Regions from separate parts of the Homo sapiens genome. Here all the other regions are linked to region 3. Evidence: promoter capture Hi-C in 16 types of primary human blood cells and fetal thymus (Javierre and others, 2016). All regions are on one chromosome and are shown on one strand. The core of a region is centred on a gene start or on the middle of the fragment in contact, and the rest is flanking DNA. Distances in the headings are between cores, read along the strand shown.

Evidence for each region. Contacts are between HindIII fragments. The CHiCAGO score rates a contact against its expected background, and 5 or more counts as called.
Region 1: the fragment with the promoter of FRA10AC1 here is called in contact with the fragment with the promoter of NOC3L in region 3 in 8 of 17 cell types (naive CD8 T cells, total CD4 T cells, naive CD4 T cells and 5 more); the score reaches 9.5 in naive CD8 T cells.
Region 2: a fragment that was not itself captured here is called in contact with the fragment with the promoter of NOC3L in region 3 in 1 of 17 cell types (non-activated CD4 T cells); the score reaches 5.2 in non-activated CD4 T cells.
Region 4: a contact is called between a fragment that was not itself captured here and the fragment with the promoter of NOC3L in region 3, in 1 of 17 cell types (naive CD8 T cells). The highest score is 5.1, in naive CD8 T cells.
Region 5: a fragment that was not itself captured here is called in contact with the fragment with the promoter of NOC3L in region 3 in 1 of 17 cell types (non-activated CD4 T cells); the score reaches 6.0 in non-activated CD4 T cells.
Region 6: a fragment that was not itself captured here is called in contact with the fragment with the promoter of NOC3L in region 3 in 3 of 17 cell types (megakaryocytes, M2 macrophages and M1 macrophages); the score reaches 6.6 in megakaryocytes.

Annotation. Positions count from the first base shown.
Region 1 is chr10:93,701,325-93,705,766 of GRCh38, reverse strand. FRA10AC1 (FRA10A associated CGG repeat 1) reads left to right here and starts at 3,175. Exons shown (of 14, transcript NM_145246.5): 1 at 3,175-3,392. RefSeq lists an enhancer at 2,887-3,186. The HindIII fragment of the contact is 26,065 bases long and covers 1-4,442 here.
Region 2 is chr10:93,411,943-93,416,797 of GRCh38, reverse strand. The region is part of intron 5 of MYOF (myoferlin); the gene reads left to right. Among named protein-coding and RNA genes, the nearest start is that of MYOF, 68 kb to the left of the region's middle. The HindIII fragment of the contact is 4,532 bases long and covers 1,272-4,855 here.
Region 3 is chr10:94,360,240-94,364,833 of GRCh38, reverse strand. NOC3L (NOC3 like DNA replication regulator) reads left to right here and starts at 1,895. Exons shown (of 21, transcript NM_022451.11): 1 at 1,895-2,004; 2 at 2,962-3,169. The coding sequence starts at 1,996. RefSeq lists a silencer at 1,692-1,821 and an enhancer at 1,962-2,221. The HindIII fragment of the contact is 1,523 bases long and covers 1,467-2,989 here.
Region 4 is chr10:93,675,965-93,680,737 of GRCh38, reverse strand. FRA10AC1 (FRA10A associated CGG repeat 1) reads left to right here. Exons shown (of 14, transcript NM_145246.5): 12 at 4,047-4,085. Among named protein-coding and RNA genes, the nearest start is that of FRA10AC1, 24 kb to the left of the region's middle. The HindIII fragment of the contact is 3,477 bases long and covers 1-3,097 here.
Region 5 is chr10:93,660,647-93,665,149 of GRCh38, reverse strand. PDE6C (phosphodiesterase 6C) reads right to left here. Exons shown (of 22, transcript NM_006204.4): 19 at 3,017-3,091; 20 at 2,507-2,590; 21 at 1,972-2,122. Among named protein-coding and RNA genes, the nearest start is that of FRA10AC1, 40 kb to the left of the region's middle. The HindIII fragment of the contact is 3,066 bases long and covers 792-3,857 here.
Region 6 is chr10:93,816,518-93,820,909 of GRCh38, reverse strand. No RefSeq gene overlaps it. Among named protein-coding and RNA genes, the nearest start is that of LGI1, 61 kb to the right of the region's middle. The HindIII fragment of the contact is 484 bases long and covers 1,985-2,468 here.

The DNA of each region.
Region 1 (4,442 bases), core at 1,926-4,425, 660 kb after region 3:
AGAGGCATGCATGTTGAAGAAACAAAGAAAGCCCAGCGTGGCTCCATAACATCAAATGTTATGGAGGTTAAGTGAGACAGCAGATGGTTCTGGATATTTATCGGTATATAACAAACAACCTCAAAGTCTTAGTGGCTTGAAACAATTATACTTATTCTGATTATTAGTCTGCAATCTGGGTGAGGCTCAGTGAAGTTACTTCATCTCTGCTCCACTCCATGTCAGCTAAAGAAGTAGAGTGACAAACCCAGGCAGAAGCTCTAACACCTTTTGCAACTTAGCATCAGAAGTGTCTTAGCATTACTTCTGCTATAGTCACTGACATGCCCAGATTCAAAGCTGTGGCCATAGGTATTAGCTTATGTTAGAGAAGTGTCAGCATCATATTATAAAAAGAACATGGAAAATGCAATCTTCTCAAAGACACACAGTATTAGAAGAATGCATATTCAGCCAGGCGCAGTGGCTCACCCCTGTAATCCCAGCACTTTAGGAGGCCAAGGCGGGATCACTTGAGGTCAGGAGTTCGAGACCAGCCTGGCCAACATGGTGAAACCCTGCCTCTACTAAAAATACAAAAATTAGCCAGGCATGGTGGCTCACACCTGTAGTCCCAGCTACTGGGAAGGCTGAAGCAGGAGAATGGCTTGAACCCGGGAGGTGGAGGTTGAGCTGAGATGGCACCACTATACTTCAGCCTGGGTGATGAAGTGAGACCCTGTCTCAAAAAAAAAAAAAAGAAAAGAAAAGAAAGAATGCACATTTGTTGGGCGCGGTGGCTTACGCCTGTAAGTCCAGCACTTTGGGAGACCAAGGTGGGTGGATCACCTGAGGTCAGGAGTTCGAGACCAGCCTGACCAACATGGTGAAACCCCATCTCTAGTAAAAAAATACAAAAATTAGCCGGGCGTAGTGTGCGCCTCTAGTCCCAGCTACTCGGGAGGCTGAGACAGGAGAATTGCTCGAACCCAGGAGGCAGGGGTTGGAGTGAGCTGAGATCACGCCACTACACTCCAGCCTGGGTGACAGAGTGAGACTCGGTCTTGAATAAAAAAGAATGCACAGTCATAGTTTATATCAGAATTATTACTTGGTATTATCACCACCATCATCACCCAACTTCCCTCATCCTGACCACATACTTAATATAGTATTTTGTTGCTTTGAGTTACATAGCATTGGTGCACATTTAAATTTTCATATCCATTGAAATAACATATTTTATAAATTAGGAACAACAGGTTCATGCATGTACTAGACACTTGGTATATGATAGAATATATTGTTGTAGTTATTCCACACATTGTCTGTCTTACTAGTCAACCTTCAAGGATAAGGAGTTGCTGTTACATACCTGTAACCCTGATGTCTAGGGCAGTGTCCTGCCCAGAGTAGGCACTGAATAAATGTTTGTGTTTTTTATTGTTGTTGAGCTATAATTGTTAACTTGAGATTTCCTAAGCAGGTGGGTTTTCTATCCTGTATTATTTCTAGTTCAGATCATGCAATCTATGCCTAATATATATTTTCTATTTACTCTTTTTCAGTAACTGCTGTCTCAAAGTAAAAAATGGAAATCTTTGCCTGAATGGACTGGTAGCAACAGATCTGAAATTCTTAGAAATGTTGGAACCAGAAGCTACTTCCCACACAATCCATGAAGTGGGGGAGAGAGAGACAGAGAGAGAGAGAGAAAAGAGAGAAAGAGAGAGAGAGAAACTGGGTCTTATAGAGAGACAGACACAAGTACTACCCAGTTCTCGACCCTCACCAGGTTTGTGGCTTTAGGTTCTGTGCCTCTCTTCCTTATGTGTAAAATGAGGCTAATAACACAGCAGCACAGGGTTGTTGGAAGAGTAAAATGAAGCAACAAACAAGAAGATGCTAGGGATGGTAGAAAAATGCTAATAAATGTCAAATATGGATAGAAAGGAAATTGGATATGAGGTATAGGTCTGTTTAGTTTTATTAACAATAAAATAATTATATATTTAATATATTTACCAAAAAAGAAACTGCTTGACAAAATAATTCCATATACTATAACGTCAAATTGTAAGGCTTCCTATTGCTTTCACTTTTTTTAGTAAAAGTTTTTATTGAAGTATAATCTGATTGCATTTTGGAATAAGTTAATTTACAATAATTTAATTTATCTTATAGCCTTTTAAGATCACATTCAGTGCAATGGATAAAGCAGAATGTATCTATAATTTATTGTCAGGGTTAGAGACTTGAACTGATAAGGATATCGTTATCTACTGTTTAGGGCAAAAGATGTAAAATGACTGTGCATTAAGTGCCAAGGTTTTCTCTAAAAAGGGCCCACTGTAAACGCCAGAAGCGTGCCAGTTCAATTCAACAAATATTTAATTAGCACTTGTGATTTCCAAGGCACCGTTTTGGGTACTGAGGAGGAAGCAAAAAATGAATAGCTGCTAATGCCAGCGAGAGACAAGACATGAACCAAACAACTAGAGTGGAAAGAGTGGGGCGTCGTGATGTAGAAAACGCAAAGCACAGGAAGAACCTAGTGGCGCTTAAAATAATCCAACTTTTCCTGCCTTTTTTCTTCTTCTTTTTAAGATTCTATTTTGGATCCCTTTTCGCATGTGCCAGGTCGCTTGTCGGCAGAGAATCCTCAACCCTGAGAAATCTCTCCTCCTATTCTTTCTTTCCTCACAAATTCGATGAGCTCTTCTGCCATCAGCACTGCTTTTGGAATGGTATCTATTGTGTGGGTGGCGAAACGATGGAGAGATATTTTTGTTCTAATTATGAGAACTGTTTTACTGGGGGAAGGAGGGAGAGGCTGATCTGAAGCGCTGATGAGCTGCTCTGAGAGGATCCTCCGAGGAGGCGTTACTAAGGTTACTAGAGAGAGGACGGCAGGTGATAGGCACGGTAAAACAAAATATATTTTCAAATGAGAGGCGTGGGCTAAGCAGCAAGCAGTGCCAGCGGTACTAGATGCCGGATTCCCTAGAGGGGAAAGGAAGGAGGCCCAGGGAAAAACTGGGAGCCGCGACTTGGCGAAAGCTGGAAGCCTCTTCGTCCCTTTCCGGGCCGTTTCTCCCGCTGCCCTTGTTTCCCGGAGCTGTTCTGGCTGTAGCACAAGGTCGGCGCACTCGGGGGACGGTGCCATTTAGATGTAACACGTGGCCGTGTCGGACCGGAAGTGGTGCCCAGTCGGGACCCGTAGGGAGAGGCGGGTTGCGGGCGGCGGCGGCGGCGGCGGCGGCGGTGGTGGTTGTGGCGAGGCTGTGCGGCAGGGCGCACGGGACCTGTGCTGCAGCGGCTCTCTCAGGCCGTGGGTCGTCGCTGCAGCTGCCGGGAAAGAAGGAAACGACGACTCCGGGGGCGAACTTGGCACACAGGGAGGAAGGGAAAGGGTGTGTGAGGAGGGCTGTGGGTATATTTGGCATCAGGGAGAAGGACCTCAAAACTTGTTTTTCATATAGTACTAGCTGATCGTCGGGTTTTTTTTTGTTTTGGTTTGGTTTTTTTTTTTTTGGATGACAGATTCTGGAGACACCTGGCATCTCCGTTTTTGAGTTTCTCCCCGCTCTTGTCAGTTGATTCGTAGGCCTGAAGTGAGTGAGAGCTTTTTAGTTCAACCAGTGAGTTAAGATAGGTATGGGTCGGATGGAGCGGCCAGCGAATAAAGAAATGGGAGAGTGGGAGCAAGAATAGGAAGTCGTGTCCTGGGGCGAGGGAAAAGATGATGATGATGATGTAACATTTACTGGGTTTCACTGTACAAGACACCGTTAAAACCCTTTAGATGAGGCAACTCTTTTAATCTCCATTCGTATGAGGTCAGCCATCTTACTAGCCTCTTTTTATAAATGAGGACACTGAGGCTTGGAGAGGTTAAGGAACAGGCCCAAAGAAAGACAAATGGAAAGTGCAGAGCCAAGCAGTGAAATCTAGTAGGCTGATCCTAGAATATATCTCTAAACACACTACAGCTGTCCCCCATCAAGATGTAAAGAACGTGAGGACATAGGACAAAGAGTGAGAGGACAATATGGCTTGAACAGATGTGGTAAGACAGCTGGAGTTGACCTAAAAAAGGGTGTAAAATCCAGGTGTGTAAGGCAATAACAGATGTAAGGGAGGGTAGAGTTGGAACTCGGGCTTTCAAACCTTCATCTCCAACCTTAACTAGCATCTTCCTATCTAGGATTTTAGTGGGGCAGAGAAGAGAGGTATATACCCACACACCTATGTTTGAAAATGGAATTACAGACTTTAAAGGTTATTTAAAGATTTAAACAACTTAAAGATTATTTCATGTAGCTATCTTATTTAATAGATGAAGTCCAGGGAGATGAAATGACTTATTCAAGGTAGCCAGGACTAGAAACATGTCGTTTACCCTAGATCCAATGCAATGAAGTTTAGAGAGTTCTTTCCTCTTTTTCCAGCTGCACTTGCTG
Region 2 (4,855 bases), core at 2,288-4,787, 950 kb after region 3:
GGCAAAACTCTGTCTCTATTAAAAATACAAAAATTAGCCAGGCGTGGTGGTGTGCGCCTATAGTCCCAGCTACTTGGGAGATTGAGGCTGGAGAATCCCTTGAACCCAGGAGGTGAAGGATGCAGTGAGCCAAGGTCATGCCACTGCACTCCAGCCTGGGTGACAAAGTGAGACTCTGTCTCAAAAAAAAAAAAAAAAAGCCTGATCAAAGCCAGGGTTCATATATTATAAGAAGATGGGATGAGAGAAGTTTCTTTTTCTTTTTCTTTTTTCTTCAGATGGAGTCTCGCTCTGTTGCCGAGGCTGGAGTGCAGTGGCGCGATCTCGGCTCACTGCAACCTCTGCCTCTGGGCTCAAGTGATTCTCCTGCCTCAGCCTCCCGAGTAGCTGGGATTACAGGCGCCTGCCACCACACCTGGCTAATTTTTTTTTTAAATTTTATTTTTAGAGAAGGGGTTTTGCCCTGTTGGCCAGGCTGGTCTTGAACTCCTGACCTCAGGTGATCCACCCGCCTTGGCCTCCCAAAGTGGGGATTACAGGCATGAGCCACGACGCCCGGCCGAGAGAAGTTTCTTTGGTGATTACTTCTGTTTGCGAATGCCAGGATGAGCAGCTGCGCTTTGGTTCAAATAGGCTGAATCAAAGAGCAGAAAGTGTTTCAAGGATTAAATGAACAAATGCTGCAGAAAGTTTGAGTAAGAAGAGACCTGAGGCTGGACCGTTGGATTTTGCAACATGAAAGTCTTTAGTGGCCTAGACAAGAGCAGTTTTGGTGGACTAGGAGGGCAGAGGGCTGGCTGGAAGAAGCATGAGAATCAGAGACAGAGTGAAGAATGTGAGTAAAAATGATTCTTCTGAGGAGTTTGCTCCCAAGAGGGGCAGGAAAAATGGAGCAGTAACTGTAGGGGGCACCGTGGAGTCAATGAAAGTTTTGTTTTTTAATATTCTGGGTGATATTTCAGCGTGTTTATATTTTGATGGGAATGATCCAGTAGAAAGGGGGAAACCGATGAACGTATAAAGAGGCAAAACTCCTTAAGTAGCAACAGGAGATAGGATCTGTGCAAATGCGGAAGAGTTGGCTTCAAGTCAGGGAGCACAGATAGTTCAGTGACTAATTGTAGCAGGAGAGAAGGCAACAGATACAGGTAGATGATTGATTTGGAGTTGGAAAGATGTGGAAATTATCTTCTAATTGCCAATTTTCTCAATGAAATAAGAAGCCAGGTCATTAGTGGACAATGAGAAAGATAGAAAGGGTGTTGGAAGCTTTCAAGATGCAAAACAGGTGGCCGTTCAGAAAGGTAAAGTGATTTGACTGTGCTGGTTAATTAGTGGCCATCTCAGACCAGGATTCAGGAAAGTTTTGGGATAGATATCTTGGAAATGTGGTAAGATGGCCAGGCAGCCCTGTGAGGACACTTACAGTTTGTGATCAGGAAATTAAAGTGAGATCAGTCCAGTGAGATGTGTGTGCTTCCCAGCCAAGTTCAGCTGGCTGGGTGCAGAGGTGAAGTCAGTGGAGGGTTGAATAAACCAGGTAAGCACAGTGAAGTGAGAGGGGGAAAGGGATCGAGGGGCATGCAGTGGGGTGGTTGCAGTGTTAGGTGGCAGGATCTAACCTGGGGTAGGGGTAAAGCAAAGACATGGAGGAAGTGGGGTGCAGGGAAGGCAGTGTGCTCATTAGATTGGGGCTGCTTGTGGGCTGGAGTAAGAGAGGAAGCAAATTGGAAAGATACAAAAGATGGCCTCTCAGCCAGGCGCGGTGGCTCACGCTTATAATCCCAGCACTTTGGGAGGCCGAGGAGGGTGGATCACTTGAGGTCAGGAGTTCGAGGCCAGCCTGGCCAACATGGCGAAACCCCGTCTCTACTAAAAATACAAAAATTAGCAGGGCGTGGTGGCAGGTGCCTGTAATCCCAGCTACTCAGGAGGCTGAGGTAGGAGAATCACTTGAACCTGGGAAGCAGAGGCTGCAGTGAGCTGAAATTGTACCACTACACTCCAGCCTGGATGACACAGTGAGACTCCACCTCAAAAAAACAAACAAACAAACAAACAAAAACACAAAACCACAAAAAACAACAAAAAAGATGGCCTCTCTAGTGGACTGAATAGTGGCCCTCTAAAATGCATGTCTATATGGAACCTCAGAATATGACCTTATTTGGAAACAGGGTCTTTGCAGATGTAATTAGTTAAGATAAAGTCACACTAAATTCAGTGACTGTAGTTTCTTGTTTGTTTGTTTTGTTTTTTGAGACAGAGGCTCTCTCTGATGCCCAGGCTGGAGTGCAGGGGCATGATCTCAGCTCACTGCAACCTCTGCCTTCCAGGTTCAAGCGATTCTCCTGCCTCAGCCTCCCAAGTAGCTGGGACCACAGGTGCACGCCACCACACCTGGCTAATTTTTTAATATTTTTAGTAGAAACGGGGCTTTGCCATGTTGACCAGGCTGGTCTTGAACTCCTGGCCTCAGGTGATCCACCCGCCTCAGCCTCCCAAAGTGCTGGGTTTACAGGTGTGAGCCGCCAAACCTGGCCCACTTGTTCTTATGAGAAGACGGGAGGACACAGAAGGAGAAAGGCTGTGTGACCACACAGAGGCAGAGACTGGAGTTATGCAGCCACAGGCAGGGCATGCTCAGGATTGCCGGGAGCCACTGGCTAGGAAGAGACAGGAAGGATTTTTCCCTCGAGGCTTCAGAGAGAGAACGTCTCTGCCAACATCTTGATTTTATACTTGTAAGGTTTGGAACTGTCGGGGAATACATTTCTTTCTTTTCTTTTCTTTTTCTTACCTTTCTTTTTCTTTCCTTGCTCTGTCACCCAGGACAGAGTGCAAGGGCATGATCATGGCTCACTGCAGCCTCGACCTCCTGGGCTCAGATGGTCCTCCCATCTTAGCCTCCCGAATAGCTCAGACTACAGGTGTGCACCACCACACCCGGCTAGTTTTTAAATTTTTTTTGTAGAGATGGGGGGTCTCCCTATGTTGCCCAGGCTGGTCTCAAACTCTTGGGCTCAAGCGATCCTCCTGCTTCGGCCTCCCAAAGTACTGGGATTAGAGGTGTGAGCCCCTGCGCCTAGCCAGAGAATACATTTCTATTGTTTTAAGTCACCCAGTTTGTGGGACTTCCTGCGACAGCCTTCAGAAGCTAATACAACCAGCAGCTTCCTGTTCAGTGGGTGATTCCTGACTTGGTGTGGCCCTCTGTGGTTGTGAAAGAGTTGCTCTTTGTAGATCCACTTGGCTGTGGATCACATTCAGGCCTGGGTCTCACGAACAGGGCCTGCCAGCACAACTGCTAGCATTTCACTCATGACACAGCTTGCACATCAGGGTGTGTTTAACAGTGCCATAGGGGCCCCCTCATTCTTTGTGGAACCCATAGCATTCTTTGTGGAGCCCGTACCATTGTTTAATCCTCTGCAGCTTCCTGCCACATAAAGGGGAGGTTTCCTGCTTGAATATTCTTCTGCTGCAAGGCACAGAGGCTGGCTGTCACCATGGCTTAGGCTGGTTTCCTCTGACCCATCCCTTTAGCCTAAAGTCTGAATAGCAGAAGACGTTCTTTGTTATCTGCAGGCTGATTCTAGAGCATCCACTGAGAATGTAATAAGTACTTGTCCAGAGTCCAGCATTGCAAAGGGGTATGATTGACCCCGACTTTTTCTCCTGCTTACTGCCATAAACAATCACCAGCCTAAAATGCTGTAATTATGGCAAGGAGGAAGTACAAATCACCAGCCTAAAATGCTATAATTATGGCAAGGAGGAAGTACCACTTAGGCCCAGGATGATGGAAGGAAGTTCGTCTTCGCTGCTTGGAGGAACCCAACAGCTGTCAGCCCCAGCCATTGCTCGGTCCAGGACAGGTTTACCGAGGGGAAGCGCCTGGCCCCCAGTGCTTCCCCGAGGCTGGTGCCAAGGTTGGGAGGAGCACCCCTTCAGCCATCTGGGTGTTCTTTCCTGAGAGTTGTTCAGTAGTTTTTCCAAATGTGAAGGCACATTTGTGCCTGGGATCCTGTTCCCCTTCCCATTTGTTTACTCATTCCACATTTATCAAGCACTTTCTATATACTTTGTGTAATGAGTTCTGTAAGGCATGGGGCAGAAACAAAGAAGCAAAGGCAAGCTCCTTGCTTCTGAAATGCCTGGGAGTAGGGGAAGCCTATGGGTTGACAAGCAGGTGCAAGACTATGTGGTGAGGACTAGAAAGAACAATGTGTGGCGGGTAGGAGAGAGCGGGACTAACTCCATCTGGAAGAGGTGGGGAGGGCATGTTGGAAGACAGTAAGTTTCATCTGAAACTTAAGAAGGAGAGGAACTTACCTGGTAGAGAGTAGGATGAAGAAGATTCCAAGAGCTTGGATCCAGGTGCCCTAAGAGAGACAGCAGGTAAGCCCTTCTTTTGAAGTCTCTTCAAGAATAGGCAAGAGGAGGTCCAGATCATCTTGCAGAGGACAAAGATTCCTTATCTTTGACTTCCATGAGGTTTTCCCAGTAGCCTGAAAAAGATGTTGAGGTACTAGGAGCATAACATGTCCTTCACCTACAGCCTGGTTTTAAACCCAGTTTTATACCAGAGAGGCAGTGTGAAAACTTGGTCCTGGTTTTAGCTCAGCTTCTAATAACTTAACCACAGGCAAGTTGCCTTAGCTTTCTGGACCTCAGTTTTTCTGTCTGTAAAATGGGGTGAAGGGTAGGTTGGATCAAGGATCTCTAAGGTCCCTTCTAGGACAACATTCTGTGGGTCCATGGCTACTTGAAGGAAGTGTGAAGTGAGGATCTACAGAGTGTTGAGTCAAAGGATCAGAGGACAGAGTAGGGAGTCACACTCAGTGAGTAGGAG
Region 3 (4,594 bases), core at 646-3,145:
AAAGAAGGGATAATTAATGATACAAGAATCTGATGAAGCTGGGAGGAGTTGGTTTTGAACTGGAATGGGGATGCCTCATCCTTGGAGAGACTGGAAGGAAGGCTAAAAGGATGGGAGTGACTGTAGATATGTTGATATGCTTGGGAGGGAATTCAGGCACTTGGGAAGAGCACAGGCTGATGTTTTCCACTTGTTTGATGAAGTAATACTCCAGCGGGACAGGCTCTGCTGTTTCTGACACTGTGTGGAAGGAGACAGAGCAAGGAAGAAGTTGGAAGGGAGGTTGAAAGAAGAGTGCCAGATGGACCTCTTGGTCTTTGTGGTGGGATCAGGAAATTGGTACTTTTTTCCCTCAGTCTCTCTAAGAGCAACACTATTCAAGGGGCTCAGAACCCTTTGAGCCGCACTACTGGGTTTTCCCACCTGCTCAGGACTGCGAGGCCAGACTCTGTGTCAGGGCCATGCTCAAAAATCATAGACTCAAAAAAACCCACAAAAAACTTGAAGTGGAATGCTTAAATTTATTGAGAAAAAAAAGTCTTTGAGAGACAAGCACTTTGATACTCTTATTCTTGCAATCCATAAAACTTCCTGTAAAAATGAACGACTTTAGGCGGGGCGCGGTGGCTCATGCCTGTTATCCCAGCACTTTGGGAGGCCAAGGTGGGCGAATCACGAGGTCAGGAGATCGAGACCATCCTGGCTAACACGGTGAAACCCCGTCTCTACTAAAAATACAAAAAAAATTAGCTGGGCGTGGTGGCGGGCGCCTGTAGTTCCAGTTACTCGGGAGGCTGAGGCAGGAGAATGGCGTGAACCCAGAAGGCAGAGCTTGCAATGAGCCCAGATTGCGCCACTGCACTCCAGCCTGGGCGCCAGAGCAAGACTCCGTCTCAAAAAACAAAAACAAAAAACGACTTTGGTGAAATTACTAAGCAGACAGAATTTACCCAAAGTTGTAAGATACTGAAATGCAGATACAGTTTTTTATTTTTATTTTTATTTTTTAGACAGTCTTGCTCTGTCACCCAGGCTGGAGTGCAGTGGTGTGATCTCGACTCACTGCAACCTCTGCCTCCTGGGTTCAAGCGATTCTCCTGCCTCAGCCTCCCGAGTAGCTAGGATTACAGGCGCACGCCACCATGTCTGGCTGATTTTTGTATTTTTAGTAGAGACAGGGTTTCACCATGTTGGCCAGGCTGGTCTCGAACTCCTGGAACTCAGGTGATCCACCCGCCTCTGCCTCCCTAAGTGCTGGGATTACAAGCGTGAACCACCGCACCCAGCCATGGATACAGTTCTTTATCAGCTAATGGTTAAAAATTAAAGCAAAAAAAAAATGCAAAATAAAACACTAAGAATCACAGACTTTTAAGTGACCAAGGCTGATGAGAAATCATTCGCCATGCTACAAACACGGCCAGAATGTCCGTCGAGGGGCAGGCATTACACACAAAAAATAAGCTTCTTTCTGCCCTCAGGACTGTATGGAGGAAAAAGACTACGAAAATCAGTATCTATAACAGCATGAGATAAGCAACGTGAGGAGAGGCACAAAATGCAATGAGGTGACCGAAAAAACCAAGTCCTCTCATTCTGAGAGGAGGAGCCCGATTTCCCCAAGGTTTTAAAAGAAATAAATAGGGCGAGAGTCAAAGAATCATACTCAGATAACCTTGCAAAATGCGCCCCTCCCGCCCGGCTTCCCGCCTTTGGCACCGACGCCCTCGGGGCTTCCCTCGTGCCAGTCCGCGCGCGCACGCCGGGGGGCAACCGGTCCAGGGCCGCGAGACAGTCACCGCGAGAGGGCGCGAGCCCGAACCTGTCTACGGAAGTCCCGCCCTCACTTCCGGCGGCGGAGGATTGGGAGGGACTGAAGGCCGTTTCCGGCTCTGGTAGTGTAGGGACTTCGGCACGTGTGTCATTCCCCGGGATTTCTGTAGTAACCCTGCTTCTGGTGAACTTGTCTGGCCGGCATTCATTTAAGGCCTAAGGATGAAGGCGGTAAGTGTCCTCAAAAGCCCGGTCGCCGCGGCCTAGGGCCCCTTCGGGTGATAGAGTCACTGCCTGAGTTAGCTTTTAGGCAGGTTTTCACCCGTGTCTAGGGGGCGGTGGTTTAGACTGGGGGCTTTCCATTCCTTACACCGAGCTCATCCTTGGTTACCCACTGTGTGCGCGCACCACTTCAGAGTATCACGAAGAGACAGGCACGGAGTTTTGCATGCGTGGGATTTCATACTTTGAAGGAATTTTTCAAGACCGTCTTTCGAACTCGTTTTTCACAAATGAGAAGCAGGGTCCTACCCTCAGCGAGTTTATAATGTGAGTCACGGTACCCATGAAGGGTAAAGAGATAGAAAAGCAAGTGATTTGTCCTGGTTCTCCCAGAAAATAAGAGGTAGTCCTGGGGTTCAGGACTAACTTTGGGATTTCTGAATGAGTCACCAGCAAGAGAAGTGGAATCCAAAGATCCGAATTCAGTTTTGCCCTCCTTAGTTTATGGGTCTTTTGGCAGCTTCATCAGTAATGTGAGGATAACAGCAGTCAGTACTCAACTAGGCTGTTAGAGGTGATTTGTTGGAGCACTTTGTAAGTAATAAAATCGTAGATAAATGTAAGTTTTATTAAAGACAGCCAGCATTTTGCTTTGAATGTGTTAAACTACAGGTGTGTTAAACTAGCCTTGAATAGCCACTTACCACTACTAGATCAGTGGTTCTTAACCTGTTTGGGGATCGTAGAACCCTTTGAATTGCTGTGAATTGGGATTGAATAACTGATGCTGTAGCGCTCTTCTGTAGGATTAAAGCCATCGTTTGGTTTTAGCTTTTATATGCAAGTCTGTGGCTGTGGGACATTGAAATTGTGGAATTGGTCTAATGAAATTTGTAATCAGTTCTCTTTAACCTGATTTAAAAAATAAGTTTCTGGGTATGCAGTATTCTTTCTGTTATTTTCTAGAGAAGAAATAAAAAACAGATCCCAAGCTTTCGCAAGTTAATAAAAACTAGTAAAGTCAAACTTGAAAACAAGCTAAAAAATAAGCAGTTTAAACAACAAAGCACTCTCAAGAAGTACCGAAAAGAACAGAGGAAACTAAGGCAAGCTGTGAAAGATGCTGTGTCTAAGAAACCCATTCCATTGGAGAACCCAAAGGAAAAGCGACCAGGTAATTGTGAAAACATCATGTGCTCTGGTTTCCATTGATTTATTCTGAAGTGTTCTTCATGGAAATAACTTTGCTTTCTAGTAATCGCTTTTCTTGTTCTCAGATCTTCCTAGAGTGGGTAAGGATAGTAGTCCTATAGGACTGCTATAAAGCATATATGCTTTATCACAGTCAGTATGAGAAAACATTTCAATACAGTATTCATTCAAGCTTCTGCTTTTAGTTTGTCTGGAAGGCAGATCTGAAGATGCACTACTTGGGAAAACAAACTGAAAGTACTCCGTTACATAAATATTGGGCAGTGTGCCAGTGCTGCCACTTTGCCATTCACCAGCAGTTAGGTAAGGTAAGAACATTGCTTGTCTCTGGTTCATTCTTCACAGTATTGCCAAGGTACACTTCTAAACTTCTGACTTTCTTTTCATGTGGAAACTTGGGGTGAAATTGAGTTGTAATTGTCATGGTTATTTTGTAAAACTATCTAAAAATTATTAAGTACTCAAAACTTGTAAGGAATATGACTATTTTGAGTCAGGCTAGTTCTACAACTTTGCTGGTACTTTTAGGGTATTCTTATTTGACTATATCAGATTATTAGACAACTATTCAGTCTTCTCAGGTCCATTTTTTAAAAATTATTATTATTATTTTAAATAGACAGGGTCTTGTTCTGTCACCCAGGCTGGAGTGCAGTGTGCAAAAATAGCCCACTACAGCCTTGACCTCCTGGGCTCAGGCAGTCCTCCTGCTTCAGCCTCCAAAAGTGCTGGAATTGCAAGGGTGAGCCACAGCACCCAGCTAAAGTTTTTTTTTTTTCTAATTTTGTGGGTACATAGTAGGTGTATATATTTATGGGATACATGAGGTACTTTGATACAGGCATACAATGCATAATAATCACATCAGAGTAAATGTGGTATCCATCACCTCAAGCATTTATCTTTGTGTTACGAACAATCCAGTTATACTTTTTTAGTTATTTTAAAACATAAAATAAATTATTGTTGACTATAGTCATCCTATCTATCAAATACTAGATCTTTTTCTAAGTGTATTTTTGTACCCATTAACCATCCCTACTCCTATCTCCTCCAACTGCCTTTCCCAGCCAGTGGTAACCATCATTCTACTCTCTTCATGAGTTCAGTTGTTTTAATTTTTAGCTACCACAAATAAGTGAGAACATGTGAAATTTGTCTTTCTGTGCCTAGCTTGTTTAACTTAGCATAATGGCCTTTAGTTTCATCCATGTTGTTGCACACAGGATCTCATTCTTTTTTGTGGCTGAATAATACTACATTGTGTACATGTACCATATTTTCTTTTATTATTATTATTATTATTTTTTTTGAGATGGAGTCTCTCTCTGTTGCCAGGCTGGAGTGCAGTGGCACGATCCCGGCTCACTGCAACCCCCGACTCCCC
Region 4 (4,773 bases), core at 110-2,609, 680 kb after region 3:
CTAGTTGCTTTTTTTAGCCCATAATAAAGTAGAGTCAATCGGCTGTAATTTATAGTGAATCAGACTAATCTAGATAGGTAATTGAATTAGATTCAAGCCAATGTTAATATAATATTTGGACAGGAGAGGGCTCTCTTGCTCCAGCTATGAAGATCATTAGCTATGTTGCATGCTTAGAAGCATTTACTTCTTCTTGCACATGGTAATATATTCATTATGTAGCAGAGTTTAAATCTGTGTGCCCTTGTGATACTGTCTACTCCCATAGCTTCAAGTATATGGTGTCACCAACCTTTAGACTTCGTAAAATTGATAGATGGTGAGAGGAAGATATTGTTATTTTATTGCTTATTGAGAGATGGCATTTGTAGCAGAATGCCTTTTTTGTCTCTATCTTAATTATTTTCCACTCTAAGGTAAATTTTAACCAATAAATGTTAAAAATATGTTTTGAGTTTTAAAAACTTATTTATCCTTATATGCTAGTAAAACATTTAATATGTCACTTAAGAAATTTGTTGCCCTCATTGTATTATATGTTCATTCTTATCACAACTGTGATACCATGTTAATCACTGCGTATTCCAAATGAAAGAACTAGTCTCTACTTTATAAAATGTTACTCAGTACAATCAAAGTAGATCAGGTAGATGAATGCTCAGGTTCAGGGCTAAGGTTGGACCCTTCGTATTATGCGTACATATGCACATGATCTTCCTTATAGACATTTTTCCCTTAGTGTTCTGTCAGTAGATGACACCTATGTTGACCTAAAAACTAATATCAGAAATCTGGGGATTATCCTTGATACTTTCTTTCCCCTTATTATTTATGTTTAATTTGTCACCAAGTCCTGTGAATTTTACCCCCAGAGTATATATTTCTCAAGTTCTCTCCACCCTACTACAAACCACTATATTTTCTCTTATAGGCTACTGTTATATTCTCCTTACGGGTTCCGCCTCTGTCTTGCCATCCCACCTTCCCTCCTCTTAATCCATTCTCCATAAATCAGTGATTTCCTGTTGTTTTTAGGCTGATAAGCAAAATCCTGGACAAAGCTAAAAGGTTCTCTGTGATCCAGAACTTGTGTACTATACAAGGCTTGTTTCTTACCACTCTGTACCTCACGTTCACACTCCCCCCATGTAGCCTTTCAGTTTCTGGAAAATGTCAAGCCTCTTTCAATTTTAGGGGTTACATGGATGCTGTGTCTTCTCTTCCTAAAACTCTCAGTTCTATCCCAGCTCATCCTTCAGGTCTAAGCTCTTAAATGTCATTTCCAAGGATCCTTTCCTGATTTCATCCCCCACCTTGAATCTAAATTAGGACTCTCATTTGTAATGCTGTCATGGCTCCTGACACTTTCCATTATTACACATATGACGATGTAAAAGCCAAAGAGGCAGAGATTCTGCCTGCTTTGTTCATTGCTATATCCCCAGCACCCCACTAGCTCATGTTCAGCATAAATAATAATCAGTAAAGGACTTTGAAGATTCTTCAGGGATAGAAGACCAAAGCAAGGTGGAATTGAGACATCTCTTTCTTATGTATTCTCTATTTAGAATGCCTTTGAAAGCAAAGTCTCTAGAAATATAGCTTTTTTACCCCCAACTTCTATGGTATATAACAGAAAATAACAAAATTTTAGCAAACTTTTAGGAAAACCATGTGGAACTCTTTAATATCTTATCTGGGATCATCTAGAATTAGCTTTATCATTGATTTGATTCTTTCTTGCCAGACCACCTTAATTTGGACCAGACTTGAAGAGTAATTAATAAACGCTTAACATCTCAGCTGCGTTTGGACTGTTGACAACTTCCTTTAATTTTATTTCTATCTTTCTGGCCTCTCTTTAGCTAATGCTTTTTTTTTTTTGTAAGACAGGGTCTTGTTCTGTCACCCAGGCCCCAGGCTGGAGTGCTGGAATACAGTGGCATGATCTTGGCTCACTGCAGCAGGCTTAACCTCGGAGGCCCATGTGATCCTCCTTTCTCAGCCTCCCAGGTAACTGGGACTACAGGCCTGCACTACCATACTCAGCTAATTTTGTTGTTGTTGTTGTTGCAGAGACAGGGTCTTGCTGTTTCCCAGACTGGTCTCAAACTCCTGGCCTCAAGCAATTCTCTCACCTTGGCCCCCCAAAGTGCTGGGATTACCAGCATGAGTCATCACACCCGACCTCCTTAGCTGCTTTTAACTGAAGTTCCTTCTCAGTCTTACATTTAGCTGTTAGAGTTCCTCGGGGCTCTTACCTAGATTTCTCTAGTTTCTCTCTGTACTCCCAGTGTAATCCCATCAACTCTCATAGCTTTAGGTTACCGTCTTAGAAAATGTTAAATAAGTAATAGATGGATGAACTAGATAGCTGAATGAATGGATAGAGAGAAAAAATAAGAAAGATCAGTAGCTGACTTTAAGGACCAGTCTGCTTTGGCAGGTATGAGGAGAACAAGATATTTAGGTAGACTGTCTTGGCAAAATGTTCAGAATCTTATCTGTCTCACCATCACCCCTTTCCCAAAAGCTACGTCATCCTTCAGGTTTCTGCTTAGCTCAATTCCTTGGAAAGGCCCTTCCTGACACCCTTCTCCTCACTTCTCCAAATAAGATTATGTTCCTCTTACATATTCCAATAATACCTGTCACTTCTCCTTTAGAAATACATAGTATCCTTGGAATAAATTGTTTATTTTCTGTAAGGGAAGGGACTGTGTGACATGTTTACTTCGTTATCTCTAATTCCTAATAGTGCTTGCTCCCATAGGAGGCATTCAATAAGTGTAGGTGAGTGAATCAGTGAATTCAACCACATTTTCTGAAAGTTGAAAGGAACTTCAGAGATCAGTCCTGGAATCATGACTGAAAGGATATTCTTTAATTTTGCTTTTCAAAGTAAAGTCCTCTGGGCAGCATTTAGGAACTTGTTAGCAACTCACAATCTCAGACCCTTCCAGATCTACTAACAAGTTCCCAGGGCGAATCATATGCACTAAAGTTTGAGAGAGGCACTGTTGTATATTATGTGATTGTTCTGCATTGGTTCAACATTTCCAGGGAAAAGGAACCCACTACTATCAAAAATAAAGCTTTACATTTTCAGGTAGTTGTATTTGCTAGCACGTTTCTCTTAACATTCAGCCAAAATCTACAGCTTCCTCCCTTTGGTTCTAATTATGTTCTTGGGCCTCCAAATTAAGCCTAACGTCTTTTTTACCTATGGACCTTTGGATATTGGGAAGCAGGTATCATGTTCCTCATTAGAGGATGACAGGAAAGAATACATTTCCTGTTTCCTTACCCTGTAGTTCTTATACTCTTCATCTGGTCTAAAGGGGCCAAAAACTTTGGGTTACGAGGCCTCCTATCCAGGAACATTGGAGGAATTGTTACTGTCCATCTGTCACCTGCCCTTTTTTACTTTATCATCCTTCAGAAATATTTTCCCTGAGGTCTTATTGCAGGAAGCTCTGTATCGTGGTGATTTTTTTTTTAAATTACACTGACCGATCTTCAGTGCCTTTCTCTCTCTCTTTCTCTCACTGGATGACCATTGTAGAGCTGAGAATTTTTGTTTTATGACATAATTGTGTTGTGTTCTTATCAGTTTCTGAGAACTAATACTTACCTGCATATATGACTTTAGAAAAGATACTGTAAAAAGCAAGTATTTATTTGTAAACTGCTTTCAAATGTTGAACATCTCTATAGATAATAAATTATTGCTTATATTGCAGCTAATTATCTGTGAGGTTTTCTTTTTAGCAATATGAGATTTTTTTTGCAGGTATTCATTATTTTTTGTTTTGTGCTGGCTATTACAGACCATATGAGCACATAAGATATGATCTCTGCCTAAAAGAACGTAACATTTTAATGAGGGAGATAAGACTAAGGAACATGAAAGATTAGAAAACAGTGAAGTGCTTATCTGTAAGACTATAAGCAAACTAGAATATTGCTAAGAATTCTGGTTATAGCTACAATGATTGCACTATTACAAGATGATAGTTAATAAATCAATGATGTTTCCTTTTCAGGACATTCATCTTCAAAGAAATCTGAAGATTCTCTACTTAGTAAGTAACAAGTGTTTATTTAATAAAAATATGCATTTGAGGTATTTGCAATTTAGATTTCCCATGAATCGTATCTTGCTGTGATGTGAATTATTTTTTGTTTTTGTTAATTATTTTTGTACATGAGAAAAACTGTAGAAAAAAGGCCAAAAGTGTATAGGATTTATTCCCCAATTAAGGGCATTAAGAAGTTTCTTATTTTAAGTATAGAGAGCATTAAAAATTTTTCCAGTAAATACAATGGATATATCTTTCAATTTCATGTTATAAAATGTGAAGGAAGAAAGATAAAGGGATGAGGTTGAAATGGATTTAAATTAGGCCTATGGTTTTCACTAGTTTGGATCAAAACAGATTGGATTTCGTTGAGTATTTGCTGCAAATTTTATTATTTTTTCCCTGCAATATTCCAAAAAGTATTCACAATGACTTATAAAAACATACACAATAAGTTTTTTTAAGGTTAAAAAAGTCAGAATAATGGAAAAATAAGGTAGAATAGCAATGTAAAACTACAGGTGAAATTTATACACACAAATGTATTCCAAAAAGTCCTGCATAATTGCAGAGATAGATCACAGATTTGTCAGTGTTCTTCCTAACAACCAAACCTAAGAGTGAAACCAGCAATAGAAAGATTAATTGTACCCATAAGATAATAATGAGAACTCCTGGAGTGTTCAGCTTT
Region 5 (4,503 bases), core at 1,075-3,574, 700 kb after region 3:
TGCCTGTAATCCCAGCACTTTGGGAGGCTGAGGCGGGTGGATCCCTTGAGATTAGGAGTGCAAGACCAGCCTGGTCAATATGGTGAAACCCTGTCTCTACTAAAAATATAAAAATTAGCTGAGTGTGGTGGCATGTGCCTGTAATCCCAGCTACTCAGGAGGCTGAGGTGGGAGAATCGCTTGAATCTGGGAGGCACAGGTTGCAATGAACTGAGATCATGCCATTGCACTCCAGCCTGGGCGACAGAGTGAGTGAGACTCCGTCTCAAAAAAATAAATTAAATAAATAAAAAACAGAATCTGATCAATGGTTGGCCAGTTAACATCTTAGTTTCTCACTGAGACAATGCAGTCTGGAAATCTGAGCTTGATGCACAAAGCTCCATGCCTGGTGATAGAAAATAATGATCTTAGTCCACAAAGAATTCTCTATGTAGTAGCAAAAAAACTCAGAAGTAAATTTTTGTGCAAATAAAATACAGATCCATATCCAATGTCACTTAAAGGACCTGATCATCTCTTCATAATAAAGTTGAGATAAAGGTTAAATCTAATAGTACTAAGAAATACCCTCACTTTTCACTTGCTTGGTAAAAATCACTTATTGTTTTGAAATGCAAATCATATCTTACCTTAAATCTCTCAAATGACCCATGAACATTTTTAGCCCACCTTCAAGGCAATACAGTATCTGGCAGCTACCTGCACTACCAGCTTCATATGTACTTCGCACTCTTTACTCTCTAGACTCCAGCTATATCAGCTTAAAAATTTTTCAATTGCACCAAGCTTATTCCTACTCCAAGCCTTTGTACATATTTTCTTACTCTTCCTCCCCAATGCCTGCTTTCTGTGGTTAGCGTAAGCATTCTTCAGGAAAGCCTTCTCCATGGCCCATGTGCACACTAGTGCCTTCTTCGAGATCGTTAATTGTGCATTGGTTCACAATGTTTAGTTCCCCCACCAAATGGTAAATTGTTCAAGATAAAGGATCCCATCTTTCCCCAGGGCCTGCCTAACACCGGGCTTTATACAGAGAAGACATCTGATAAATACATAAGTGAATGGATATCAAGGAGTCAAAAACTCCTGCTTTTATTCTGAAGGACATCCTTAACTTTGTTAAGAAAAATATTTTCTCCTATGAATTATTTAAAATTTCACTAAATGCAATAGAGCCACCTAAAAGGAACATGTCAGGGCCTTTCCACATAGAGATGATTTCTTTGTTAAGCAATAACAATTGCTTACAAAACCTTCAGAGTGATAAACTTTCAAGACAGAAATTAGCATTCCACTTTCAAAATGATGTTTGGGCCATCTGATGAACTAATAGTTAATCCTAAGCATTTTAAGAATCCAAAAACAACATTAAACTTGACAAAGTGACTTTAGGAATAGAAATTTCATGCCAGAAAAAAAATGGCACAGGAATCTCATGCCAGAAAAACATCTCCCAATGAGACATTTGGGAGACCGGCAATTTCAGCCTTACTCTACATGTAGGGCTTCCTTAAGCTGAAGATCTGTAAAACCACCTCATTACATGGAGAAGAATATTAAACTCAGCGAGGTTAAGCAAGCTGCCCAAGGTCTCACAGCTAATGCATAATGTTGGGACAAAAACTTTTTTCTCACCTAACTCTAATCCCCCAGATTCTGTAGTTTACATATTATCCCTAAGCACCCAGTGTTCTGCAGAGGAGCCACCTTCTAGCAAGATGAAGAAGCCTAGCTCCAACCTCTACTTCAACTGGACCGGTCAATTCGATCTGGAGTTATACATAAGATGTTGTCTGTGGCAGGGCCAGGGGGACCTGAAAACCACTAATCGGCCTGTTAAAATGATCAGTCTGCACCAGTAAAGCAGGTTTTCTGTTTGTGGTGACTCTTTATGGCTTTGTCACATGCCATTAAGCTCAGCCTAGCTTCTGGCTACATTACAGGGAGCAAAAACAGAGCCCATCTAACCTTTTTCGGCTCCTCCTTCTTGCTTTTTTGCCTCCTCTTCAATGACCTTCATCTTTGCATCATACTCATCAGCTAGTGATTTCCATTCTACTCTGTTATTCTGAAGACCACTCAGCATAGGTGTGATTTCTTTGTGAAACCGTGAGAACTCCTAAAAGGAATTTTAGGTCAGAAACTACATAAATCATACAGTTAATTTTCAGGATCTTTCATATGCAGAGAGTGAGCTGTAAGGAATTGTTACAGCACTCAGAGCTGCTAGGATAAGTTTAACCACGGGCCTATGAAGTTTGGGAAAGAGACACGTGCTGTCTTTACTGCCTGCCTAAGGAAGTGTTCAGTTCGCTCACATCTGAGTTCCCTCCTTTTATTCCAGCCCTGAATGAGATTAGGGTAAAACCTCAAACTGCTTTGGAGAAACAGTGATACCCCAATGGCTTTCCGTATGGGTGACTTCTAAATTTTGGTGACAGTTTGAAAGAAAATTTCTCATCCAAATGTTTATGTATTTAATTCAAATAATTTGCTTACTTACCTTATATACAAAAGTACAAACAAAATCAATAAATCCAACTTGAAGTTTAGGTAATTCATCTCTTTTGTTTCTGTCCATCATAGGCTAGAAAGAGAAATAAATCCTTTAAGACAGGTTTCTAAGATGTATGAACAAAACAGACTGATTTGTCCTGATAACTTTTTTTTTTTTTTTTTTTTTTTTGAGGCAGAGTCTCACTCTGTCTCCAGTCTGGGTGCAGTGCCACAATCTCGGCTCACTGCAGCCTTCGCCTTCTGAGTTTAAGTGATTCTCCTGTCTCAGCCTCCCGAGTGGCTGGGACTACAGGCATGCACCACCATGACCAGCTAATTTTTGTATTTTTAGTAGAAACGGGGTTACACCATGTTGGTCAGGATGGTCTCGATCTTTTGACCTCGTGATCTGCCCACCTCAGCCTCCCAAAGTGCTGGGATTACAGGTGTGAGCCACCGCGCCCGGCCTGTCCTGATAACTTTTAATAAGTAATACATTTTTATGTCAAGGTCTTACAATGGGTTGTTGCTGCAACACTGTTCTCTCCAGATCTCCTTGTTCCCAAAATTCATTTGCAACCATAAGTGCTACCTGCAAATGAGAAAGGCTTGGTTCACTAAATCCACTTATGAATAGAGAACTTGCATTTTATTAGTACAAGTGACATTTAAGGATCGAGTTTACAGTCAATGTTTGAGGTGCTATCAAACCGTATGCTCTTAACTTTTAAAAAGAGGTCATTTACAGATTATATTGAAATGCGAAAGGGGAGCTTTTTCTTCCTACTTCAGTGTTCTAGGCTTATTCTAGGAGTATCTATCTCCCATTTACGATTGCCACCACTTCTCACCAACGAAAAGGAGAAATAGGAGGATTAAATATTATGCTTCAAGTTCTAACACTTCGCCGGTTGTTCTTTGTCCTGTCTATCTGTTAGCATCTAGCATATGTCTGTGAATGCACATGTGACATACACCCATTAGTATGTAGCTTTACCTAATTACAGTGTGAGGATATTCCAGCATTAATTTATATCACTAAAAAAAAACATTTATCAAGTTCATTGAACACCTGCTAGCTGCCTTTACATTGGCATGAGCCAGGCTTGCCAAGAGGAATAAGGGGTGATCTTTTTCTTTAAAATGTTCAGAGTCTAGCGAAGACAGTCATGTATACAGTGTGGTAAGTGCTGTAACAATAATAGTGTAAGTGCTATGGGTCAGGGAGAAGGGAGTAAAGATAAGTTTCATGAAGGAAGGAGGTGGCATTTATGTTGTATTGTGAAGAACAAGAGTAATTTTCCAGGAAAAGAGGAGGGGAAGAATATTTGCCGAGATAAAATGGAACGTACAAAGCTTCTGTGAGTGCAGGCTTAGAGTGTGAAGCAATGACATGGGAGAAGGTGATGGGAATTGATGCTGGGAGTGTGAGTTGAGGACAGGCAGTGACAGGCCATGTAAATTTTGCCAGGAAGCTTGAATTTGATTCTCTAGGCCAGTGCTGTTTACTCTTGGAGTCTAGGGTTCCCCTGAAGTGCTCTAGGGCCCAAGAAGGTGGAGACCAAGAGAGATGAAAGCTAAAGTAGCTTTGCTTTTTTCTCTTTTATAAAGTGATCTTTGGGCAAGTTTTGTTGGGAGAAAATAGACTTTACTTCTTTGGGAAAGAAGTTGGAAACCTCTGGCAATGGGGAGTATGAGCCTTTTAAGGAGTAGAATGGCTGAGTTGAGCTCTGTGTAGAGACATCCTGGCAGCAAGTCAGAGGATGACTTGTGGAGTTGATGTGAGCATCTATTAGGAGGCTGCTACCATAGTTCTGATAAAAGTCAGAACTGAGGTACTAGCGAGGCTGATATAAATGATTTTGAAATGAGGGAGATAAGCTCAAGCAGGACCCCAGGTTTCTAGCTTGGGTGACCTCATCGATAAAGAACAGAGGAAGAAGAGCAGGCATGTCGAGGTGGAAGGAGAGGAAGCATTTGGTTTTGGACTTGATGGTGACGGAG
Region 6 (4,392 bases), core at 977-3,476, 540 kb after region 3:
ATAATAGTTTCTCCCTGAAACGAATCCTCTCCTTGTTGGGGCCAGGGGGCGGGCTGAAACTACTTTCATAAGACTAATGAAAGGCCATAAGATTAGGATTATGGGAGGGCCCTGAATTCTGCTAAAATGTCGGTATAGTTTTTATGATCCCTTACTTCTCAGGAATCGTGTGGCCAGAGGTCACAAGATTTATGACTTCCCTAATTGCTCATATAGATAATATCACTATTGTAGAACTTAAGATTGGTCTTTTGAGATGTTTTTCAGACTGATGCCACCCAGACTCATGACTCATAACTCAACTATTTCTGTGCCCTCCTCTCCCACCAAGAGGTGGACTCAGTGCACAGATGGTGACCATTTTCCACACCCCTATGATTGCATTGCCAACCAATCAGCAGCACCCATTCTCTATCCCCTGCCCACCAAACTATCCTTGAAAAACCCTAACCCGTGAGCCTTTGGGGAGACTGATTTGAGTACTAACTCTATTTCCCCTGTGGCCAGCCTCACATCAATTAAACTACTGCAATACCATGGTCTCGGTGAATTGGTTTTGTCTGTGCAGAGGATGGGACGAACTCATCAGGCGATTACAGAGTTGTTGTAAAGATTATTTTAAGCTGAAGACATTTGAGACTCAACAGATGCAGAAAAAGACTTTCTTGGAGCTTTCCTAATCTGATGAAACACAGCAACTTTGGGAAATGAGACTACCATAAATCCCTTCTCCTAGGGAGAGTCCTAGCTGTGAAGAAGAGAGAAAGGCCACTAGCACCTATGTAAATAAAATGTCACAAACTTTCTTATCTCCCATTTATTCTCATAAAAATCCAATTGTCTTTCCTAAGGAAACCTATTTGTTCTTCTCATAGGAGCCTTTTCTCCTTTTTCCTTCCCCTACTATGTTAGGTACATAAGCCCTGAATTCTAACAGTGAGCACAATCACTGAGTGCATCACTGAGCACTCCTGTGTGTATGCACATTGCATGCTTAAATCAACTCTTCTTTTCTCTTGTCAATCTATCTTTTGATGGTTTAGATTCGTAGGCCCCCAGGCACTGACTCTGTGAAGGTAAAGTGTTTCCTCTCCAGCACCAGGAATAGCACTGATATGGTTTGGCTCCATGTCTCACCCAAATCTTATGTCAAATTGCAATCCTCACATGTCAGGGGAGGAGACTGGTGGGAGGTGATTGGATCACGGAGGTGGATTTCCCCCTTGCTGTTCTTGTGATAACGAATGAGTTCTCATGAGATCCGATGGTTTAAAAGTGTGTGGCACTTTCCCCCTCATTCTGTCTCTCCTTCTACTCTGCCTTGCTAAGATATGCTTCTCCTTCACCTTCTGCCATGATTGTAAGTTTCCTGAGGCCCCCTGGCCATGTGAAACTGTAGAGCCTGTTGAACCGTGAGTCAATTAAACTCCTTTTCTTCATAAATAACCAAGTCTCAAATAGTTCTTTCTAGCAGTGTGAGAATGGACTAATATAGGACTCTGCTTTGGACACTGACCCTGAGCAAGTGGTGTATTTCTGCCACTGTTCTAGATGTACGGATGAAGTTCTGTCATCCACTGTTCTTGGGTAGCTCCCCACTACCAAGGGCTACATTCAGTCCTTCCTCTGGACTCCAGTCTTGTTTGCCTAGTTCCAGTCTCACTGTTTGTCCCTGTGGTTTTATACTTTGCTTATTGTTTAAGTTTTACTCCTTTTTTGAGCCAGTGACATTTTCCTCTTGCATTTTTAGAGAAGCATAGAAATATGTATTTAATATCTAACCTGTCATTCCTATGGACTTGGAGCACAGGAAAGAGGATTATGAATGCATTTGCTCTGATATCTTTATTAAGAAGTTTTCAGGCCTTTTAAAAGTGAGGATGCCAGTATTTATCTGAACTCAAAACAATGGTTCTTGATCCAGTAATTCTGTTTCTGGAACTCTTCCTAGAGGAAGTAATCCAAAAAATGGGGGAAAAAAGCTTCATACACAAAGATGTTCATGGCTGTATTACTTTCTATGGTAAAGATCTGAATATATTATAAATATTTCCCAACAATAAATAAATATTAATATTTCCATTTAATATAATATTATGCAGCTACTAAAATAATACTTTACAAAGAATATATGATATAAAAATGCTTATTATAATACAAGGGAGAAAATTTGTAGCCATTTTTTGTTGTTTTATACAAGCATGCATTAAAAAATAGCATAGAAAGACTAATAAAAAGAAACCACATCAGTGCTAAAAACGGTTGTCTCTTAGTTTTTCTTTATTTTCAAAATTGTGTGTTATGTATATGAATCGCTTTTATAATAGGAAGATACCTAAATAAATATATTAACAAAAAGCTGAATGATAGAAGGACATTTTAAGACAGGCATCTTTCATGATTATAGAGAATGGATTGGCATACTACAAAACGATTGCTTCTAAAACACACAAACAGCAGAGGAAGCTTTTGTGTTAGAAGATTATTGGTTGTGATTAGATGGGTTTTCAGCATCAGGGCACAAGAAGCACCAGTTTGGTGACATCGAGCAAGGAGGCAGGGCTACAAGGGACTGGCAGATGGCAAGAACCTACACTCTGCAGGCAAATGGCCAGGCGCCAGGATCAGATGAGGGAAAGGGCAAGCTAGGAGACTGCGCCAGGGGAGCCAGTGGTAGGGGCCGGACAGGAGCCAACACTTATTGAGGGGTTGCTGAGTTTGTGCCAGGCACTGTTTTGGATCCTGAAATACAGGTGGAGAAGACTGACACAGTTCTTGCCTTCATGAAACTTACAGTCCATGGCAGGGGTTTCAAGCTGTTTTTTTTTTTTTGGAAAGGGCTAGACAGTAAGCATCTTAGGTTTTGTGAAGCTATACAATCTGTGTTACAATTACTCAGTTCTGCCACTGTAGCTTAGTAAAAGCAGCCACAGACAACAGTAAATGGATGGGTGTGGCTAGGTACCAATGAAACTTTGTTTATAAAAATAAGTGGTGGCTAGACTTGGATGGTGGCATAGTTTGCCACCTCCTGATCTAAGTGGAAGACAGACAGTAAACAAGTAAACAAGTTAATATGATAATTATGGTTTGTGATCATTGTCAGGAAGGAAATCAAAAGGGTGATCTAGTAGTGAATTAGTAATACATTACATTTTACCTTTTACCGAGATGTGACATCCATACAATAAGGTGCACAAATTCCAGGATATAGAATATTCTTAACACCTTAGAACTGGGTCCTGAAGCATTAGAATGACCTCTCCATCCAAAGAACTGGGCATGGGGAAGCATTCCAGGCAGAAGGGAAAACAAGTACAAGAGTCTGAGGCAGAAAAAGGTTTCGCATCTTCCATGAACAGAAAGGGTTTTCATGGGGCTAGATAGCAGTGAGCAGGGAATAGGGTGGGATGCTGTGGGTAGAGGAAAACCCCACAGACTTTAGAGGCCATTGTGGACATTCTGTATCTTATTCTAAATGTTATAGGAGAGCAATGGAGGGTTTTAAGCAGAATGGCATGATCTGATTGAAGTTTCAAGATGATAAGTGAACTGCTGTCTTCTTTCTGGACTTTTCTGTAGTAGTGTTCAGTTAGGACGGGGAACTGGGGCTAGGGGCTGGGGGCTGGGAGCATCCAGCCTCAGCTGGAGCTGAGATGGGCTGTGTGAGGAAAATCCATTAAAGAACACCATTACCATACACCACATACTGAACCATAAACATCGATTTATTTTGTAAAACACCTCTTTGAAATATTACTGTAACTAGATTTATTGGCACCTGTTTCCGAGCACTTAATTAGGAGATACTTTAAGAACTGTGCATCAAAGACAAGAACCTGAAGAAAATGCAAGCAGGGGGTTAAGAGGTGAGGTGAGCTGGCAGGTACAGATCTAGCAGCAGCAAGTCATGCTGCCGAGGTGGAGGCTCACGGGAGGCAGGAGGAGGGGGTCAGAATATATCTTTAGTGTCCAGGAAGAGACCCCGGTGGTTTTTGGAACCAGAGAGTTGAGGTTTGCTTTCATTGGTGTGGCTTGGTTCTGATTTAATGTTTTGAAGACATATTGTAGGGAATAGTTACAAAGTGTCCCTAGGATGGTGAAAAGAGGCGGGTGGTGAGGGGGCAAGAAGGAATGGAGTTTTGTAAATGGAGAATTAGAGGAAATGATAATTTGGGGCCAAGAGCCTTCCTCCTTCTCTCCCTACCTGCCTCTCTTCTTTTCTCCTTCCTTCCCTTTCATTTATTTACTTACTTATTTATTTATTTACTATCTACCTTGGTTGAATGTCATCTCCTTTCTTTTTTAAAAATGCAGAGGCGAGAGACCAAGAGGAAGAAATTGAATCAGTATGTACTGCCTTACTAAGGTTGTCATGAAGCAAGCGCAAAC